2 separate regions of the Homo sapiens genome follow, and region 1 is linked to region 2. Evidence: promoter capture Hi-C in 16 types of primary human blood cells and fetal thymus (Javierre and others, 2016). All regions are on one chromosome and are shown on one strand. The core of a region is centred on a gene start or on the middle of the fragment in contact, and the rest is flanking DNA. Distances in the headings are between cores, read along the strand shown.

What was found. Contacts are between HindIII fragments. The CHiCAGO score rates a contact against its expected background, and 5 or more counts as called.
Region 1: a fragment that was not itself captured here is called in contact with the fragment with the promoter of AKAIN1 in region 2 in 1 of 17 cell types (total CD8 T cells); the score reaches 5.3 in total CD8 T cells.

The regions. Positions count from the first base shown.
Region 1 is chr18:5,393,826-5,396,541 of GRCh38, reverse strand. It overlaps EPB41L3 (erythrocyte membrane protein band 4.1 like 3), which reads left to right. Exons shown (of 23, transcript NM_012307.5): 19 at 210-341; 20 at 835-933; 21 at 1,395-1,475; 22 at 1,749-1,865. The coding sequence ends at 1,859. Among named protein-coding and RNA genes, the nearest start is that of ZBTB14, 99 kb to the right of the region's middle. RefSeq lists an enhancer at 1-1,109. The HindIII fragment of the contact is 221 bases long and covers 1,156-1,376 here.
Region 2 is chr18:5,195,795-5,198,837 of GRCh38, reverse strand. AKAIN1 (A-kinase anchor inhibitor 1) reads left to right here and starts at 1,581. Exons shown (of 2, transcript NM_001145194.2): 1 at 1,581-1,800. The coding sequence starts at 1,785. The HindIII fragment of the contact is 4,568 bases long and covers 1,075-3,043 here.

The DNA of each region.
Region 1 (2,716 bases), core at 17-2,516, 200 kb before region 2:
GCTTTACTTGGAGCATTTCATATAAAAGTGCTATGAGAGTCCAGGAGACTGACATGTGCATGTTGTATGCCTCATTCCCCAGCTTACTCTCTACATAAACATTTATAGCATACTAACCTGTGCTTATAACCACCAAGAGAGGAAAAGGAAGAAAACAATGTGTTCATGCAAACTATAACAGCCACTCTGCTTACTCCCCTTTGGCACAGTCCTCAACGGTGAAGACGGAAACCATCAGTTTTGGCAGTGTTTCACCGGGAGGAGTAAAGCTAGAAATTTCCACGAAGGAAGTGCCAGTAGTTCACACCGAAACCAAAACCATCACATATGAATCATCACAGGTGAGATATTCTGTGAAGACCAGAGCCCTGGCTGCTTATTTCACCCCTCTATGGCCTAGTGTGTTTACATAGAACTGCACGATATTTAATTCATGAGACTTAGAGGATCCAGCAGCCAGACCATTTCTATTAAAAGTGATGCAATAATGGTCATTTTATTAGTGATCAGGGAGCAGCAGATGACTTAACCAAGTCTTTATGTGTCTTGAAGTGTAGAAAAAGGCTCAGAAACCTGTTTCCCTAGCCACAGAGAAAGAAAAATATTCACTCACCCATCCACCACTCACATTTCTGAAACCTTAGTTTTTTTAATGACAGTTACCTGTGGTTGCACTTAGTACTTATTCTTGGGAGCAGCGCTCAGACTCTGAAGAGCATAATGATTGCATAATAGGAGATAGTGAAATTGTCGTAATGCCTTAAATAACGTAGCCAACTTCTGAAGAGCAGATGTGAGCACCTGGATGAGGGGTCTATGCCTCTGCTGCTTTAGGTCGATCCAGGCACAGATCTGGAGCCAGGCGTGCTGATGAGTGCACAGACGATCACATCTGAAACCACCAGTACCACCACCACTACGCACATCACCAAAGTAAGTGGAGTGAGAACCGAGAAGAGGATTCCTTGAGAGCGAGCTGGAGGAAGGTGCTTGTTCAGAACTCCTCACAGGTTGGGCTGCACAAGCACAAGGTGGCTTGAAGCTCAGGACGCCGGGATAGCTGCAAGGGGAGCTTTTACAGCCCCTAGATTTACGATGCACTTGTCCTCACGTGCGAGTTCCCCTTTAGGAATATACATTCTGATATCCTAAGCTTAATGCTTACTCCAGTGCTTGGCATGTGGTAGTGTTCCAGAAACATGGGCCATCCAGACCCAAGGGCCTCCATTCCGTCCTCACCTCTGGAATTAAAAATGTGAAATAAGTGCCATAGAACTCTAATTTCAATTCTCGAAGAGTGAATGATGTCAGCATCTTCGGCCATTTCCCCCTACTGAACCATGATGGTTTCTCCCAGTGAGTAAATTCATAAAGCTTCTCTACGTGTCTTGCAGACTGTGAAAGGGGGCATTTCAGAGACAAGAATTGAGAAGCGAATAGTCATCACGGGGGATGCAGACATTGACCATGACCAGGTAGTGTGTGTGAGACGGTAAATACCCTGGCAGAGAAACAAAGAAAAACCTGTTGGTCCTACAGTTTCAATGCTATTCCTCTAGTCCAGCATGTATTCCGAAGAAAATTCCGAATTAACTTTCCAATATATGATTTATGATTCCTTTTGTAATCATTGTACCTCATTTGTAAATTGTGGATATAGATCTAGCTCATAAGTCTCCACCTCACCACTGATCATGCATGTTCCACCTCCTTTTTGTTTCTGCCCTTCTGTGATTTCCCGGGGATAGGCGCTGGCTCAGGCAATTAAAGAGGCCAAAGAGCAGCACCCTGACATGTCAGTGACCAAAGTAGTGGTCCATAAAGAGACAGAGATCACACCAGAAGATGGAGAGGATTGACCAGAGGTAAGAGGTGATGCCGATTCTCTAGGCTTGCCTAGGCTGGCATGAGGCATGGGGCACTTCCCTCTCATCCTTCACCTGATCCCTCCTTTCCTCTGTTCTCTCACTGGCATTTGTTGGGCTGGTTACCAAGAGGATGGAGAATTGGTTTATGGGTTTGTCTCACATTTGGAGCTTCCATTCTTGTGGAGTTTTTGCATGCACTGCCAGTTAGAGGATAAAGGAAGAGCAGAGTCTATGCTTCTATGCTTGTGTGGTCTTCCTGGTGTTCCCTTTTATTCCATGGCCTGCACTCTTTGATTATCCAAATTTGTAATGGCAAATTTGATTTTACTTGCCATGTGGCCTAATTGGAACAAAGGCAGTTTTGCTCTGAGAGGCTCAATTTGTGTGTTCCAAATACTAGGGAAATAATATATACCCCTTTCTCCTTCTGATGGCAACATTATCCCGTCGTAAGCTTTCTCTTCAACTGTGTTTGATTGTAACCTGTTTATGCTTTTGTCTTTAGTTTTGTTTTTTTAATTTGAAAGCTGAGCACTCACTTTCTTTTTGGATGTCTTATATTTCCTGTATTCTTTGGGATGATTTTTCTCCCTAGCGTAGCACTGTCTCAGAAGGAGGCAAAAAAAATGCAGTCTTGTGGTCCTGTAGAAAGCACATACCTTTCCAGTGACTGTTTGGCCAGCATCATGAGCAGACTATATCATCTATGTGAGCACAGACTTGTCATGCATAGTCACCTGCCATGCAAGATCTCATGGGGCCATGAGCGTTTCTGAGAGGGCTTTGAATGCTGAATGCAGCAGTCGAGCGACTTGCACAACTTGGTGATGTGATAAAATGTTTAAGAG
Region 2 (3,043 bases), core at 332-2,831:
AGTCTTTTGTTGTTGTTTTTCCTATACTATATTGCTTTTCCTTGAACTTAATCATGGGTAACTGTTTATGTATTGGGAGATGAAAGCCCATTTAAACATAAGGGCTGTAAAAGACAGCCCTTTTGAGTGTGTTACAAGAAAAACACCTTTCATTCCAAAATTATTTTAAATACTGTTTTACACTTCCCGTGGGATGAAGAAAAGAAGACAGAGTGAAGCATCATTGGAGAAACTTGGCAAAATGGGAGAACTCTATCCTGTCATGCACACGCTTTATCCTGCCCATCAGCTGACTTTCATCTTGCTGCTGCTGGGGTAGGCCCCATATGTTCAAGCCTGTGTTGAGCCAGGTGCTAACAGCAGTACTGATTGTATTATGTTGAGGCTGCCCATATGCCTTCATGCAAACTGTAGTTCAAAAGCTGTAAAACTATTTGCATTTTCAGTCTATCGGATGGCTTTAAAAAAAAAACAGTGCCAATCAGTCTATTTGGATGCTTTATATTTGCCAAAAGACTGTAGAACTTATTGCCATCAACCAATTATCAGGAAATACTTAATTTTCAGAATAGTTACATTTTCCAGGGATAGTTGCAAGTGAAGAAACCCCATAAAACACTGGAGATGACCTTGATTACCTTTGTTCTTGGAAAACCTTATTTAGCTGGAAAAATAGGGGAGAGGCTGGAGGATTCTGGGTGGCTTTAGCTTTGGGTTTGTAACCCACATGGACCTGTTTCAAGCTGGGTGACATCTAGTGTGGGCTGTTCACACTGCACAGACATTATTAGGGAATAGATACCTAAAGTGAGCAATGATTAGGAGGATGAAGTGAGCATAAGGCAGTCCCAGTACCTTTAAGGTAGAACTGGGTGTATGAGCGGGGCATGCAGACAGTTTTCAGCTGGGTGAGGATAGGGGAAGAACTGATGTTTCTTGATTGATCTCAGGGCTGTTCTCACACTTGCAGGGGGCTCTGTTGGCTCTTCCTTGTGAAGGGTGTATGCGTTATCTTTCCTGTGCCCTGGCCGGCCTTGCTTTTTCTAAAGTGATGACCTTGAGGACCTTCAAGCTTAGGAGCTTTCAGAGCCGGATTTGCCACCTGGGAGCGGAACCTGATAGTAGCGCCCTCCTCGAGCGCTCCATAGTCACTGTGTCCTTCCTCTTGCTCTCTTCCTGACGTTAGCAGAGGACTGGGACTCGCGAGAGAGGACTCACGGACCTCCAGGACCTATTAACTTGACAGACCCGCCCCTCTATTCGAGCCAGCCCAACTCGGAGAACTCAGAGTCATCCTCGAGAGTAAAGAAAGCTCTTAGAGTTTTTTTTTTTTGACAAATCTATCTTAAATGTCAGTCCAATATCCACGGCGACGAGCCACAGCAGGTAATTAAAAGCAATTCACTGTCCCCTGCCGGGAAGTTTACCTTTCTCTCTCTTGCTCTTCCGACCTTCGTCGCGTGAAAGCGGTGGAAGTGCTTTGCTCCCTAAGCAGCAGTGTACGTCGCCGAGCTGGCACAGGAATGAGGGATGGACTGAGCGGGGATTCACCCTCCTCCTCCCGCCGCCGCTGTGGCCGCATTGTGGAGGCAGAGCGCGCGGCGGCGGCTGGAGCTGCGGCCCCAGGATCTAGCGGCGGGAGCTGTCCGGGGTGCTGACCGCCCCGCCCGCCGCCCGCCCAGCGCGCCCTCCTGCACCGGACCCCGCCAAGTCCGGCCTTCTTCCCATCCTCCGTCTGCCTGTCTTTCTCTCTTAATCTGGGGGCGTAGCGGCTGGAAGAAATCATGGTGTTCGCTCCAGGTACACCGCACCTTGCTTTTTCACCAAGTGTCTAGGAGGGGAGCAGGGTAGAGGACGGAGAGGAGAGGGAAAAAAGGCCTCTTTACCTTACGGCCCATCTGCGCGTTTCGGAGTTACTGTCTGTGCTCATGGGGCGGAGGAGTGCCTCGGCGCGTCGCCTTCGCCCCTCTCCCCAGTCCCGCCCCATCTGTCCTCTAACAATCTCCAGCCCTTCCTCGCCCTCGTCCCGCTGCTTCTCTTCCCATCTGGCTCCTCCACACCCCTTCCGAGCTCAGGAGCCTTAAGAACTGGGACTTTCGCCAGCAGCACCGGCACCTACACGGGCAAGAGAGTGGAGAGGTGGGGCAAAGAGTAGTGGGCTTCGGGCTACTTGCGTGGGAATCTCCCTCACTGCTACTTCCCCCTCCGCAGAATTGGCAAAGTGACCCGGGTCCTCCTGGCCTCCCGAGGAGAAGGAGGCGAAGTGGGCGAAGCCAAGGGGAGTAGGACGAAGGGCAGAGGAGCGATACTTCTTAAGGAATTAGACCTGAAACTCCGACCGGAGGCTGCAGCACAGAGGCAGCTACTGCGGCGCCGCTGGAGGTTGCCGTGTCTTTTTGGAGCAGGCGGTGAAGGACCTTGGTCCCTTTGCTGCTCTCCGTGGCTACTAGTTGGCGAAGAGTCAGATTTGTCTGCGGTTGACCGGCTTGGCGGCGTGTGCGTGCGTGCGCATTTGAGTCCGCCCCACTGGAGCAAGGGAGGCCAGGCTAATCGAGGAAGCGGGGAAAAGCGTGGTCGTTGTGAACGTCCGACGCTGTCTCTAGGGGTAGATCCAAAGTATTTCTCTCTCACGCATTTTAGGGTCTGATTTCGTTAAAGACTGCTGTGGAAAACAGGGAGTGGGGAAGGCTGGAGGGGCCTAGAACTCTCTAGCTTTGTTCCTGGGGTCTTTAACTTGAAAGATTGGCATGTATTTGCTGTGGTCATGGGCTTCAGATGGCTGGGGAGAAAAGGCGTAATGCATTTTTTTTTAAAGGGAAGAATTGAGTCTTTTCTTCAAAAAATTCAATTAGCAAAACTTGAGAAGAGCAAGTCAGTCCCCTCCCCCTCCCCCTCAGAATGCTAGCTGGGGAGGGAGGGATGAGTTTCTGTAGGCTCTGGCTTTACCACAGGCAGTGGTTCTTAGAGGAACGCCTTAAAGGAATGCCCAGGAGCTCTTCCCATGCCCATCCTAAATAACTCAAGGGAGGAAATTGTTCCATAT